Linked DNA regions of Homo sapiens: region 1 is linked to region 2. Evidence: promoter capture Hi-C in 16 types of primary human blood cells and fetal thymus (Javierre and others, 2016). All regions are on one chromosome and are shown on one strand. The core of a region is centred on a gene start or on the middle of the fragment in contact, and the rest is flanking DNA. Distances in the headings are between cores, read along the strand shown. Region 1 holds the start of SLC6A3 (solute carrier family 6 member 3). Region 2 holds the start of CLPTM1L (CLPTM1 like).

Evidence for each region. Contacts are between HindIII fragments. The CHiCAGO score rates a contact against its expected background, and 5 or more counts as called.
Region 1: the fragment with the promoter of SLC6A3 here is called in contact with the fragment with the promoter of CLPTM1L in region 2 in 12 of 17 cell types (neutrophils, monocytes, M1 macrophages and 9 more); the score reaches 12.5 in neutrophils.

The regions. Positions count from the first base shown.
Region 1 is chr5:1,444,009-1,451,540 of GRCh38, forward strand. SLC6A3 (solute carrier family 6 member 3) reads right to left here and starts at 1,432. Exons shown (of 15, transcript NM_001044.5): 1 at 1,340-1,432. RefSeq lists an enhancer at 2,070-2,569. The HindIII fragment of the contact is 13,596 bases long and covers 1-5,937 here.
Region 2 is chr5:1,339,473-1,347,105 of GRCh38, forward strand. CLPTM1L (CLPTM1 like) reads right to left here and starts at 5,627. Exons shown (of 17, transcript NM_030782.5): 1 at 5,208-5,627; 2 at 4,879-4,979; 3 at 2,199-2,388. The coding sequence starts at 5,369. RefSeq lists an enhancer at 1,442-1,586 and a cis regulatory region at 1,514. The HindIII fragment of the contact is 23,624 bases long and covers 1-7,633 here.

The DNA of each region.
Region 1 (7,532 bases), core at 182-2,681, 100 kb after region 2:
ATACTCAGTAATAAAGAGCAAAATTTATATAAGCAAAATCAGCCACTGTAAAGAGAGTTTAGACATAACCATCACAACTGCTTCCTCAAAAAGTGTCTGTACAAGCCACATCCACCTAGGGCAGGTGGCACCACCCCGCGTGAGAGAGCTGGGCGGAGGATGGACAGGGCTTCATCGCGGGAACTAGCTCCTGGGCCAGCAGGGTAACCCGGGAAATCCTGTCCAAACGGCTACATAAACCCCCCTGCAACGCTGAGCAGGAGAGCAGGAGCGTCTACACCGCCCCAGCCAGGGCGACTTCTGTCATTTGGATCCAGCAGCAGCGTGTTTCAGTCGAGCGCACGCACACACAGACACACAGACACACACAGACTCACAAACACACATACACACTCACACACACACAGGCGAGCACATACACTTACACACATACACACTCACACTCACACAGGTGCGCACACACACACAACGACTGAAGCAGGTCGCAGGTGGAGGCTCTAACAGGCAACTTTCCCTGCATCCAAGTTTGCACAAAACCTCACCCATGAGCTATCACGAGCTATGCCACGCACCCGGTGACAACCTCAACCGGCACGACCCCTCCGGTGGGTAAAACACCCGACGAAGGGGTTCCGCGGCGCGAGCAGGAGGCCGCGTTGGGAGAGGGCGTCGGGTGCGGAGCTCGCGAGTCTCCGGCAAGCCGCCGCCGCCCTGGGGCCACCTGACCCCGCTCCTGAACGCGGGGCCTCAGAGGCGAGTTTTGGGTCTACACAGCAAAATGTGGCCCGTTAGAAAGCGTCCTTCCTCACCGCGCCCAGAACAAGAAGCGGCGCTGCCTGGCGAGTCCTCGCCCGGCCTCCCCGCCCTGCCCAGAGCACCAGCGCGCAGCCCGCGCCCGCCACCACCCCCAACACAGACAAAGCCCCCGCGAGATGGAGCGGCGGTGTACAAAACCCACTCCGATCGGATCTGGGATGCGCCGCACCCCTAGTAGGGTTAAGTTCCACGAGAAGAAACCAGGACCCCCGAGTCACAGCCATAGACACCCACGCGTCCCCTAAGCCGGTGACTGCACCAGGTGCCCACCCGGTTCTGAGCCTGGAGCGGGGCCAGGGGCAGCCCTGCACCCTCCTCGCGCCTCGGACGGCCTCAGGGTCCCATGTGGCGCTATCGGGGGGCGCTCGGCACCCGCGACTGTTGGCGACTTTGGAGACGGCGCGGTCTGCGGGACGCGGGGACCCCAGACTGTGCCCGGTCCCCGGCCCCCGCCCCTGCGCCCCACTTCGGGGTCTGCGGAAGGAGCGGGGCGCCCCGATGCCGCGAGCGACGCTGGCCTCACCTGGCCGCCCGGGCCTGGGCTTTGCACGCGAGTCCTGGCGCCGAGAGCGTTCCGCGAAGCCTCCCCTCCCGCTCCGCAGCGCTGGGCGGTCTCAGCCTCGGCCTCGGGCTCTTATCCAGTAGACAGGGTCCGCCCCGCCCCGCCCTCCCGCCGACGGGGTCGCCCTCGCGTCCTGGCTCCTCCTCCTCACCTCCCCGGGCCGCGCCCCCGCCCCCGCCTCCCGGACGCAGATGGCTGGGAGCAAGCGGCGGCCACGGCTCCACTGTCCTGCGCGTCCCGGAGCCTCGGACACGGGGTGCGGGGGCCTGGGGGTCCGAGACGTCGCGGATCTAGACGGGCGCCTTCCACGCGGGAACTGTCTGGGCCGCCCTGCGCCCTCGCCCGCACCCCTGGGGGCTGCCCCGGGCACCCGCTATCTTCGGACGCCCAGGGCTGGCGGCTCCCAGCTGGACGGGGAGGGAGCCGAGCGGCTGCGCGCGGGGAACTGCTGGGACCCCGTCGGGCCGACCCTTCCCTCCCTCCCCATCAGGGGCCCCTACGGTGGCCCCGCGCTCTGGGGACCACGTCCCTCCCACCCCGCCGCTCCACGCTCTGACCAGCGGGCTCGGGACCCCGCCGAGGACTCTGCACGCTTCCCGGCGTGCGGGCTGCGGAGACGCGGGTCCTTCCGTGGCCTTGGGGTCTCCGCGACCTCGAGGCGACCGAGGTCCCCTAGGCCTAGTCCCCGCCTTGCCGGCATCTAGTGCGCCTGCATCGGAACCGAGGGGCCCGCCTCGCACTCGCCTAAGAAAACCATTTCCCGGGACGGGCCTGGAAAGCCCTGGCGGTTGGTATCCGGCTCCAGGGCCGAATGGACTCCGAGGCTTTCCTTCCGAGATGCCCGGGCGGGATTTCTTCCATTCAGCGCGCGGAGGAATGGAGCCCCCAGGCCGCCAAGGCCCAGGATGTCCAGGTCCTTAGAAGGCACCGAGGTGAGTGGCCGCGCCCAGCTCTGTGCGTCGCCCCTAGGGTCGCCCGAACCCCGGCGTTCCTCCCCGTGTACCCTCGATGCTCCCGTGAGCACCCTGCCCTGGGCGTCCAGGCGAGCCCTGGGGCTCTCCAGCCATTCCAGCCTGCAGCCCGCGCTCAGCAGTGAGGGAGGCAGGGACCCTTGGTGCCTGACTCCGCAGTACCCGCCCGCAGCGCGGTGCCCCACCCCCTGCGCCCGCCCCGCACTCCCCGCACACCACCACTCCCCTCCCCGCCCCCCGCTCCCCCGCTCCCCGGCTCCGGGGCTGGCACCCAGGCAGAAGGCACTCAGGGCTGTGACTTCACGCTGAGTTGGAATCAAGTGGGAGCCTAGTGACCCCCTGGGGCTGCCATGACAAAAAACTCCACAGCCTGGGGGCTCACACAGAAGCCTTCAGTTCTAACGGTTCCGGTGTCCCGAGGCCAAGGCCTGGCCGACTCTGTGTCTGGTGAGGGCCGCTTCGGGGTTGCAGACAGTTCTCTCCCTGTATCTCCCCACGCTAGGGGCTGGGGAGAGCTCTCCGGGGTCTGTTTTATGAGGGCACTGGTCCCATTCCTCAGGGTGGAGCCCTCCTGGCCTGACCACCTGAAGGCCTCCTGACACCACCTCCCATCAGGGGTGGGACTTCATCGCCAGGGAGGTGAGGGGACTTCAGGAGAGGGGGATGTGCCACCTCGAAGCTGTAGTGTGTCAGTGGCTGCCACAGAAGGGATCTCTCTACCCCTATTATCTCCATGGCACAGGTTTCAATAAAAAGGAGTGAGCCAGGGCTTGGCCCCAGAGCAGCAGGGTTGAGGAAACAGTCTCCCAAGGAAAAGACTTTGCAGGTGACTAAGGGAGGCTGTTAAATAAAACACACAGAGAGAATGGATGTTCAGGTATATTAAAAATACACAGGCCAGGAGTGAGGGCTCACGCTTGTAATCCCAGCACTCTGGGAGGCCGAGGAAGGAGGATCTCTTGAGGCCAGGAGTTTGAGACCAGCCTGGGCCACATGGCAAAACCCTGACTTTGAAAAAAAAAATTAGCCAGGCATGGTGGCCCACACCTGTAGTCCCAGCTACTGGGGAGGCAGAGGTGGGAGAATAGCTTGAAGCTGGGAGGTGGAGGTTGTAGTGAGCTGAGATTGCGCCATGGGCCACAGGATGAGACCCTGTCTCGAAACAAAACAACACACAGGCAAACAGCGTTTGGGAAGGGATTGCAAGCGCTGCAGGAGCGCAGAATTGTGACCCAAAGCTAACAGGGTACAGGCAGGAAGGTGCAGGGACTAGAGGTCACACAGATCCAGGCAGCCACATCCTTACTGACCAGTAGCACACAGAGAATGCACCTGCCACACTCAGGAGGGGCCACTGAGTGATCACACGCATGTAACCTGCACTCTGCCAAGACAAAGAGCATTCCTCCACCCCTGCCTCAACCCCGACTTCCAACCACATGAATTAGGATAAAGGAGCTTTGGGTGCTCTAAGAACAAACTAACTGCGGGAGTTGGGCTCATGGATGACACAGAGAAAGCGCAGCTGCCAGACCCATGGGTCTCCATCCTCCCACAACAGGAATGCTCCGTGAACTGTGCAGGTAGAAGCAGTGTGGTTATGAGCTGATCAGACCTGATCAAACGGCCGACCTTTGCATGCTTGGAACTTTGCCCTAAATGCCAAGTCGGCTTTATTATCATTGTGGTTGCTGCTATGGCTGCTGTGGGCTCAGGGCGTTGGGTGCAGGCAGGTGGAGCCCCCCTGCCTCTGCACTTCCTGCCCATGCTCGGCACCTCTCCCCACTGGCTGGGACCGCAGCTGCAGAGCCCACAAGGAGCCCCTGGCCACTGACTGCTGTCTCCAAAGCAACCTTGCCCCACGGGTCCCCCCCTCCTTGGGTGCTGCCTCCTGGGAGGCCCTCAGTGCTGGATGTTGCGCCGTGTCTCGCCTGATTTGGAAGACAGCGTGGATGCTCCCCCCATGAGTGCTGTATCTGAGAGGGGACAAGGACAGTGGCAGTGAGATGACAGTCATTTACCTGCCTGCGTATTTACTATATTGAGGGTGTCCTGTGTGCTTTCAGAGGAAGTCCCAGGGAGCCCAGCTCAGACTTTAAAGACCCTGACCTCTCACTGGTGCTGGGAAGGCCCTGGGGGTAGGGGGCTTGGGGAGGGCAAGGGTGAGGGGACCAGTAGGCAGGAGTGGCTTTTGTCCAGGGGTGTGGGAGGTCAGATCCCAGACCTTGTCTGTCCAGGTTCTGAGAATGATGGAAGGCGCTGGCTCCAGGCAGGAGGCCCTGCTCACTGCTGCACCCCTGTGCCCTCCCCGGGGGCCACCTCAGGAGGAAGATAGTTTCCTCTCGCATGGCAGGGACAGCAGTACACTTCCAATGTCTTCTCTCAGAGCTGTATCATTTTCCGGCTCACTGCTGGTTTTAGTCACAGACATCTTGATGGTCTTGCCACTGCACAGCATGTCACAGTGGTCTGCCACACTGATGACATCAGGCTGAATCAACCTGGGGAGCAAAAAATGAAAAATGCCAAGATGCCTTGGTAAGACACGTGCTTGCTAAAAATTGAAAGAGAAAATAACACATTTTCAAAACCTGCCACCTTGGTGAACTTTCTGTGGGTCCATTGGTCTGATTGGTCAAAATATATATCCAAAATGAAAGAAAACACGCTGTCTCTGGCAAGCAAGACTACCACTAAGAAAGAAGTATCATACCTGGTGAGGCTCTTCCGGTTTGCAAGGTGAGGTGCAAGACACTCGGGGATGCTTCTCTGGCCTGTTTTGTGTTCTTCATAAAGCGTTTGGTTTTGAGTAGGGCCCAGAGTAAGAAAGATTCTGCTGCTGGTCTGGATGGGCAAACTGCTGCCCCAGGAGGCCACACAATCTGGTGTTGTTCTCCGACTTTAGCTGGCATCACAGTCACCTACATAAACCTTTACATGCATAGGAGGCACAGATCACCTCGCTCCATCCTTAGAGACGCAGGTTCAGTAGGTCTGAGGTGGGACCTGAGGACCTGCGTTTCTAGAAAGTTCTCAGGTGACACTGACACTGCTGGCCCAGGAACCACACTTTGAGAACACTGATCTGGCAGAACCAGTGGGAATTGGAGGGTCTGTGGCAGACGGAGATGTTGTAGGCAGCGCAGAAAATAACAGTTGAATAAGAGCTGAACGCTCTCCTGAAAATACGTCCTCTCCTTTTGAGTAAGAGCAGCCCTGAGCCATAGCAGAAACTCAGGGAGCTCTGTTACCATAGAAGCTGAGCGGCCCAGCAGAAGCTATTTGTTATCGGACCCACAGAGGTTGTGTAGACAGCATCCTGCCGTCCTCAGGTGGAATGTTTACGACACAAGGCTTGAGCAGGTCTGGAAGGCGCGGTAAGTTCCATGAACAAGCACCCACTCTTGCTGCATGGAGACCGCTTCCTTAACCCAGACCTCTGGCTACATGAGAGTTTCTTATGACATTGAACGGAGAAAATGCATGCGTTGGGGCCTGGATTACATGTGTCTATACACAGCACACTGCCCCCACCAGAAAGTGAAAGGCTGTGTCATCATGGCCTTCTGTGAAAGACCAGTGAAAGAAAGCTTCCCAGTGGGCACATATTCAAACCATGCATCAGGTTCATCATCTAGCCAAGGAGGGATGGCCAGAGGATGGCCCTAAATGTAGTCATAGGCAGTGGCGAATGGTCTGGCTACAGAGCAGGAGGCTTCAAAAAAATTGAAATATTGATGACAAGATTTTTCTTGGTAGATTTCATGTTTGTAGAAAATCTTGAGGAATTTACAAAAAAAACTACTAGAATTTATAAATGAATTTAGCAAGGCCATGGGATCTGATGAAAACCAATTGTATTTCTATGTACTGGCAGCAAACAATTCTAAAATAAAACCTAAAATAATTTCACTTACAATAGCATCCGAAACAAAATGCTTGGGGATAAACCGTATCCGAGACTTGTGCACCGAAAACCTAGAATCCATTGCTGTGAGAAACTTTTGAAAGTCTAGACAAGCAGAGGAGTGTGTATGTTTATGACTGAAAGGCTCAATATTAATGAGATGTCAGTTCTTCATAAATTGACATACAGATTCAATGCAATCTCAATCAAAATTCTAACTTGCTTTTTTGAAGAAATTAACCAGCTGGTTCTAAAATGTGTTTGGAGATGTGGGTGACCTAGAGTAGCCAAAAGAATCTTGAAAAAGAACAACATTGGAGGACCTAGGAGATGCCTTTCATGATTCCACCATCCTAACAAAACTAATTGGACTTTTTTTCTGTAATTATCTCGGCATTTGTGTCTTTTTAAAAACAGCCTTGCTGAGGTGTAATGGATATGCAATATTCCAAGTGTACGATTTGGTGAGTGACTGATGGGGTCATGGCAACGCGATCACACAGAAGATGATGGCGGTGCTCCTCCCTCGCTGACTTCCCTCTGTCTGTGTCTCTTTACCTCTTCCCATCCCCAGGCAACCACTGATTTGCTCTTTTTTTTTTTCTTTTTGTGAGACGGAGTCTCACTCTGTCACCTAGGCTGGAGTGCAGTGGCACGATCTCAGCTCACTGCAGCCTTTGCCTCCTCAGTTCAAGCAATTCTCCTGCCTCAGCCTCCCAAGTAGCTGGGATTACAGATGCCCGCCACCACACCCAGCTAATTTTTGTATTTTTAGTAGAAACAGGGTTTCACTATGTTGGCCAGGCTGGTCTTGAACTCCCAACCTCAAGTGATAAGCTCGCCTTGGCCTCCCAAAATGCTGGAATGATTTGTTTTCTATGATTACAGAACAATGTGTTTTTAATAGAATTTTATATAAATAGAATTATACAGTAAGTACTGTTTTCTGGGTCTGTTCTTTTGCATTCAGCATATTTGAGAAGAATCCACATCATTGCATCGGCAGTTAATTCCCTTTTAGTTATTTGTAGTATCCATTGTGTGGATATGGGATATGATGTACTTGGCTTTTCCATCTGCCTATTGATGGACATCTGGCTGTTACAAATAAAGCTACTATGAACATTTGTGTGCAAGTCTTTGAACATAGGCTCTCATTACTTTGGGGTAGGTAAGAAGTACTTAGTTGTGGAATGGCTGGGTCATTTGGTAGATATATGTTTAACTATTTTTTTAAAAACTGTTAAATTCTTTTGCAAAGTAGTTGTATCATTTT
Region 2 (7,633 bases), core at 4,377-6,876:
ACAGATGGCCACACAGACGGGCAAACTGTGCCCGGGACAGCAGGGTCAGCGCCCTAACCTGTGAACAGATGGCCACGCACATGGAAAAACCGCGCCCGGACAGCAGGGTCGGCACCCTAACCTGTGAAGAGAACGGCCACACAGACGGGCAAACTGTGCTCGGGACAGCAGGGTCAGCGCCCTAACCTGTGAACAGATGGCCACACAGATGGGCAAACTGTGCCCGGGACAGCAGAGTCAGCGCCCTAACCTGTGAACAGATGGCCACGCACATGGAAAAACCGCGCCCGGACAGCAGGGTCAGCACCCTAACCTGTGAAGAGAACGGCCACACAGACGGGCAAACTGTGCTCGGGACAGCAGGGTCAGCGCCCTAACCTGTGAACAGATGGCCACACAGACGGGCAAACTGTGCCCGGGACAGCAGGGTCAGCGCCCTAACCTGTGAACAGATGGCCACGCACATGGAAAAACCGCGCCCGGACAGCAGGGTCGGCACCCTAACCTGTGAACAGATGGCCACGCACAGGCACAACCGGGGGAGAGCCCAGCAGAGAGGGCACAGCGGCCCCACAGCTGCCAATTCCGCCAGACTCTCGCCAAACAGCCCCCCATCCTTATCTCCACGGAAGCCAGGGGGTGCTGCTTTGCAACATGTGGTCACGGACTTCACCAATTCCTTTTTTGAGGTCCTCAAACTAAGTGGGCCCACTTCTCAGAAGTTGAGAGGGTGAGAGCCCCCTGACCTTGGCAGAAGACTGTGCAAGTCCAGGGCTCACACAGCCCTGTGGCTGTAAGGAGACTGAGAGGGAGTCAGCTTCTAAAACCAAGCATGTGGGGCTGCCTAAAGGAGACATACTGAGGATTACACACGGCTCTTACATGAAGTTAAACAGGACATGGACTGACAGGGAAATCTTAGCTCGGCTCAGATCTGATACATCCTAGGAAGCACTATCGCCTCACCCATTTCCTACCTAAAGATGCAGTTTAGCGATAATTTACATTACAAACGGTTTTCCACACCTCCTCACATTTGCTACCTGCAAGGGAGGCTTCCTGCGCTACATGCTACATGCCCATCACCCCACCCACTTTTCAGGACACTGGAGAGGAGGGATGGGGGCCCCAGATGAGGGGACACGGAGAGGGGCAGGTGAGGGATGTTCCTAAGGAGACAGATGCAAACTGGGGAGAGGCAGGAGCAGGTGTTGGTAGGGCTTTCAAAACCCCATCAACTCCGAGAGACCTCTCTTTCTCTCTGTCTGGAACAATTTCACAGCCTCTTCCTGGAAAGCTGCCATCTTTCTTGTTTTGTAAATTTTTCTGAGGCAGAGTCTCCCTCTGTCGCCCAGGCTGGAATGCAGTGGCATCATCTCACCTCACGGGTTCAAACGATTCTCCTCCCTCAGCCTCCTGAGTAGCTGGGATTACAGGCGCGTGCCACCACATCCAGCTAATTTTTGTATTTTTAGTAGAGACGGGGTTTCACCATGTTGGCCAGGCTAGTCTCGAACTCCTGACTGCAGGTGATCCACCTGCCTCAGCCTCCCAAAGTGCTGGGATTACAGGCATGAGCCACTGCGCCCGGCCTTGTTTTGTAAATTATCTCACCTTCCACTCAACACAAAGGTGGGTGTCAGAATTCCCTTGCTTTATCCTTGGCCTGTATTCATGATCACTTAAGTGACTTCCAGTTTTTATTTGCGCATACACCTTTCTACAGATGTACAAACTACAACTTGTACCTCTACCTTTTCCATGATCTCCAATTACATTCTTAGAATAAACATCTAGGAATAGCCCAGTCCTACACAGAATGCAGAATGAGCCCAGCTCTCATCCCCAGAGCTCCTGGTGAGAAGCTGCAGGCCAGCTCTGCAGGACCAGCGCTCCATCCCACCAGGTGCAGTAGGTGCCCCCAGAGACTGAGAGGGCCCATTCCCCGAGGGACTCTGCATCGAGAATGCCAGCGATCACTTCAACTGTCCCTAATTTTAGATAAAACTTGTCTGCAAACTCATGGATATGATTCAGCTGAAAGTCAGAAATGCACGCCAGTAACATTCCAATGGCTTTTGGCTTTACTCCCAACAAAGTCACTGGAGCCCTAGACATCGCCCACCTGTGTGGAGAAAGACATGTCCGTTCTGACGGAGAGGCACAGCCTGTTATCAGTAACCCATGAAGACCCTCACCTGTGTATCAGACTCCCCGGTGAGCAGGTTGATTTCTTCTGGCTTGGGGACCATGTAGGTGGTCAGAGGACTGACCAGGTGCACCTGCTTCCCGTCGTGCCACGGCAGGACCCCAGCGTGATGGAGGAAGATGTAGGCATACAGCGTCCCATTGTTTCTCGTTTTCTTTGGTACAGAAACATTAACTGTCCTGAAACAGAACAATCATTTCCACTACATACATATTATATTCTGGGTCTCTAGAACCTATTCAAATACCTTTATAAAGCTGCTTCAATAAACTAATTTTAGCTCAGAAGTACTAAAAATGAAACCCACCTGCCCAGGGCTTTACGAGTCGTGTGTGTGTGTGTGTGTGTGTGTGTGTGTGCACGCGCACGCGTGCGCGTCCTGAGAACTCGGCACAGGTGTGGGCGCCTACAGCCGAAAGCAAAACGGCCCGCACTTCCTGCCTCCATCTCAGGAGGCTGAGAGGTCAATAACCCACCTGAGGCCACAAGGCTGAAGCAGCCAGATGGAAAGCAGCTTCTGGGCCTGGCCAGGGTACCAGCTGACCACACACACTGAATCACCCAACTCCGAAGCGACAGAAGGGAAGGGCAGCAGCCACGAGGGCTCCAGGTGCCTCGGCCCACACTACTGGAACCTCAGAAATTTAATGTGGGTAGTTTTTTTGGGTGTTGTAGTTTTAAGGATAAAAAGATGATCAGCCACAAAGGACTGACTTTCAAGGCTGTCAGTCCTGACTGTGTGGCATCCAGCACGAGCTGAGGAAAGGCCCGGCGAGCTGCTACAACTGTAGGCCTCGGACCAGGTGCCTGGCTCTTCACCCGCACACCAGGGCCCGACGTCCATACTACAGCCCCATGGAAAAACCTCGCATTCCACCTGTTTACGGTTACATGAGTTCTTCTTCCTCTTTAAAAGTCTCTTTTTTGAGACAAGGTCTCGCTGTCACCAGGCTGAAAGTGTAGGGGTGCAATCACAGCTCACTGCATCCTCAACCTCCTGAGCTCAAGTGACCTCCCGCCTCAGTCTCCCGAGTAGCTGGGACTACAGGTGGGCGTGCCACCATGCCTGGCTAACTTTGAAAACTGTTGTAGAGATGGGGTTTTGTCACATTGCCTAGGCTGGTCTTGAACTGCTGGGCTCAAGTGATCCTCCCGCCTTGGCCTCCCAAACTGCTGGGATTATAGGCATGAGTCACTGTGCCCGGCCTCTCCTTAAAAATCTTACGGTTGGCCGGGTGCGGCGGCTCACGCCTGTAATCCCAGCACCTTGGGAGGCCGAGCCGGGCAGATCACGAGGTCAGGAGTTTCAGACCAGCCCAGCCAACATGGTGAAACCCTGTCTCTACTAAAAATAAAAAAATTAGCCAGGCGTGGTGGCGGGTGCCTGTAGTCTCAGCTACTTTGGAGGCTAAGGCAGGAGAATCCCTTGAACCCGGGAACCGGAGGTTGCAGTGAGCAGAGATCACGCCACTGCACTCCAGCCTGGCAACAGAGCAAGACTCTATCTCAAAAAAAAAAAAAAATCTTACGGCCAAAGTTGTAATGAAAAACACAAAGGCATCTATGGCTCCTCACTACCCAGGAAAGAGTATGTCTCCACCAGGACATCTTAAGTGTCTCTCTTCAGGCAGAGGGTGCAGGGCTGTGTATTTCTGGTGGAATGTGCACTTGGAGACACTTGAGGCGGAGCTGTGTTAAGAGTGCTCATTCTCCCCACTTCCTCCAGGCTGACACTGTGCCAGGTCAAATGGAAAACCTCACTAGCTGTCCTTGGTAACTGGTACACGGCCCGGCACGGAAGAGGCAGTATTCATGTCTGGGAAATTAAACCCAGTGCAGATGAATCCTGAGCATTTTTGAAAGGTGTGGGCAGCTACAACCGAGCGGGCAGCTTGGTCACCAGCACTTCTGGCCTCCCCTTCATGGAGGCAGAGAGAGGGCAGGAACTGGCTTGAGGTCACAGGCCTAAAGAGGCCAGGCAGAAACCGGCTTGCCAGCGCCTCCAGCTACCCCCAGGGACTGGCTGCCTAGAGGGCGTGGAGTCCAGCATGAGTCTCAAACTTTCATTATTCTCTCCTCAGATACCTCCCAGGCAATGAAGGGAAATGGTTGACTTGTGAGAAGCAAATCATATTTAAAAGTATACTTATTCAATTAAAAAAAATTAGGCCATGTCAGATGTAATTTTTAAGATACTCTACATATTTGGACATTGATCTATTCTAACGTCACATGTCACTTATTTATGATTTTCTACAAAATTGCTTCCTCTATCCTCATCTCTTTTCCCTCACAAGTAACTTAAGCGAACTACTTCCACCAGGAAAAGACAAGTTGGTCCCCGGTAGTGAAACTGCAGAGTTGTCTGCTCTCCACTGGTTCACCAAGCGTGGCCCCTGCTCCTTCGGAGCCTCCCCGTCCAGGACATCCCACTGCCATCACACTCTGCTGAGAACTACTTCTTAAACGACATTCATCACCTGTCACCTTCCAGGCTGAATGTTTACAGGCCACGCATAGGCCTCCAGTTAGGATATTCTACCACTTCAAGACATTCGGTAAGACTAGTTCTCTAAAATAAACATGTTATGTACAGAAAGCTAACTTTTAAACAATCTGAACATGAGTAATGTTTTCCCTTTCACTGGCATTTTGTCCTACGCCCATACCTTTCAAATTTGGACTCCACATCAAAGTCTTCCACATTCAAGACCAGGTCGATGTTGTTCTCAGCACCCAGGTGGGACCTCGTCGTGGTGTACACGCTCAGCTGGAAAGGAGGGGGCGTCGAGAGTCAGCTCGGCCAGGCCCTGGCAGGACGCACTCAAATCCCACGGCCAGCTGGAGGGCGGAAGACCTGGCCGCTGGGGAACCAGGAAAGGTTCCATCTCGACTCGCGCGGCCACAGCTCCGAACTGGGACGGGAAGGCGACGTCTGGGGCCTGGAGGAGAGGCCCCCACCCCAACCCGCCCGGCCCCCGGCCCCGCGGACGCTCACCTGCAGCTTGGGCCGCCGCGCCAGGTAGGGCTGGATGCAGTTGGCGTCGCCGGAGCACGGGCGGGTGTAGACGATGCCGTACATGACCCAGCAGGTGTGCACCACGTAGACCACGAACACGCCCACCACCAAGCTGGTGAAGGAGCTGCGGCCGCTCCACATGGCGGCCCCGCGCCCGGCGCCCCCGGCCCGCCCGCCTCTCAGCCGCGAGCCCCGCCCGCCCGGCGCCCAGCCCGCCGCTCCGGGCTCCGCCGCTCACTGGAGAGCCGCCGCGCGCCACCGCCACCGCCGCGGGGGAACGAATGCGCCGCGCGCCGCAGACCGCCGGCCGCCCCGCATGCTCCGGCCCCGCTCCCACCTGGCGCCGCGGGATTCGCCGGCCCCGCGCGCCGCTTCCGGGCCCCGCCGCCTGCCGGAAGTGGACGCGCCGCGCGGCTCCCTGGGAAACGGAGTCTCGGCCGCTGCCGCGCACGCGCATCCAGGATGCGGCGCGTGTGTGACGTTACCCGCCCGCGCCGCCCTCCTGGGGTGCCTCTCAGGGACCCAGGCGCTCAGCTGCTGGGGCCGCGGAGGGCGTTCGCGGGGCGCCGGGGAAGGCTAGGGCCGCGGGGTCCCCGGGGCGCCGTCCCCAACCGCCGACGCCTGCCAGACCACCAAGTGGGGGCCATGTCGACGTGTGAGGAGCCTGGTGGAAGGTGATACTGGAATTCCGGCACTGGGCCTGCAACCCTTTTAGTCCACAGTTGTCAGAATCTAAAGGGAAGAAAAACGAAGTGCTCAGAACCCTCACAGAAGCCGGGCACCTCATCCCGTGTGTGGGTTTTTTCCCCAGTACAAACCCATTGTGGGGACAGGCGCTTTTGAAGAAAAAATTCAGATTCCCGGGCTGAAGTGGCTCCTCACAGCCTTGAACCTGACCCCCAGCTTCCCGCTAAAGCCGAGCGTGCCCAGCACGGCGAGGTCAGCAGAGGCCCCTCGGAGGGCGGCCGGGGGAGGTCAGTGGGAGGCCCTCGGGCAGCCGGTGGATGGGCCGGCGACCTCCCCGACTCCATCAGAAGCGCTCAGTCTGTGCCCTTCAGTTACTGGAGCAGCTCCCGTCCTTTGGCCAGTTCTCTGGAAGGTCGTTTCCGTTTCTGTGTCTGCCACACGTGCAGCACAATCGAAAAACCTTGTTCGACATTTCTAGAAAGAGTAGATGCTACTGAAGACCCAATAGATTGCTGAGGGTTTTCAGAGCAGGGACAATTGCATCAGGGTGCTGGGCTCCGGGAAGAACTCAGAGGACTTGGCTGACGGGCGGATGGGACAGTGATTGGTGCCGAGAATGGGCCAGAGAAGCAGGTCTGCCTGGAGCAGGCACCCGAGGCCGCGTGCAGGGGCGGTCCTGGGCCACCAACCCCTGGAAGCTGGGCCAGGAGCTTCGGAGCCATCCGAGGCTTTTTTCGCTCCTCTCACTCTCATGCACCTAGTTACCCTCCCCACAGAGTCTTCTCACGGCGCGGTTTTCGGCTACCATTGCAGTGGTGTCTGACTACACCCAGTGCCTCTATCGTTCCCCCCTCAGTCTGTTCTCGCTTCTTGGCAAACCTGTCCTTGGAAAGCCCTCTGCTGACTCCTGTTACCCTGATCAAATGCATCCTCCTCAGGAGGCTCGTGAGCCCTTTGCAGGGTGGCCCAAGAGGCATCACGCCCTGCTCTCCAGCCACTCTTGGGGTCCCCTACAGGGCCAGGCGTCCCACACCAGCAGCGGGTGCTGGTCCTGCCACAGTCTGTGCGACACGTGAATGAAGGCTGTAGACCTGTGGTCTGCGGGAGGCAAATTCCAACTCCAGCTGTCAAACATAAGGGGACTGGTAGGCTCTCCAGGGTGGATTGTCTCACGGCATCCAGAGGCAGGGACCGAGGCAGGGACCTAGCCAGGCCTCGGGAAGGAGCTGCAAACCCAGGAGCTCTGGGGTGTGGCTTCATCTCCCTCCCTCCCTACCACCCTACCCCCATCTCTCCGTGTTCTTCAGATGCCTCATTTTCCTGTCAGGCACCTGGCCAGCTCTAGGAGCTGGAATCAGGTTGGTGCCTCCTTGGTCAGTGTCCACCCCTAGTGTCATCCACAGTGACCAACGGAAGGGGTGGCCGGTGGTACAGGACATTGGCCATCTTGGGAAAGATCACAGAGACAGGAAGGGCCTCTCCAGCTGAGCAGATGAGAGGTTCTTCAGTGGTCTGGACACATTTGCCCACTCATGGCCGTCCCCCTGCCCTGTTGAGAGAACCGATGAGGAAAGGGAGCCCTGCATCTGTCGCCTTCCGACTCCGACCGCCTGAGGCTGGGCTGCCGGCAAGCCGCGGCAGCATATGACAGCACTTGAAAGAAAGTCCCTGGAAAGAATGTGGATCATTGCAGAACTCCCTCAAGAAAGCGCCAGAGG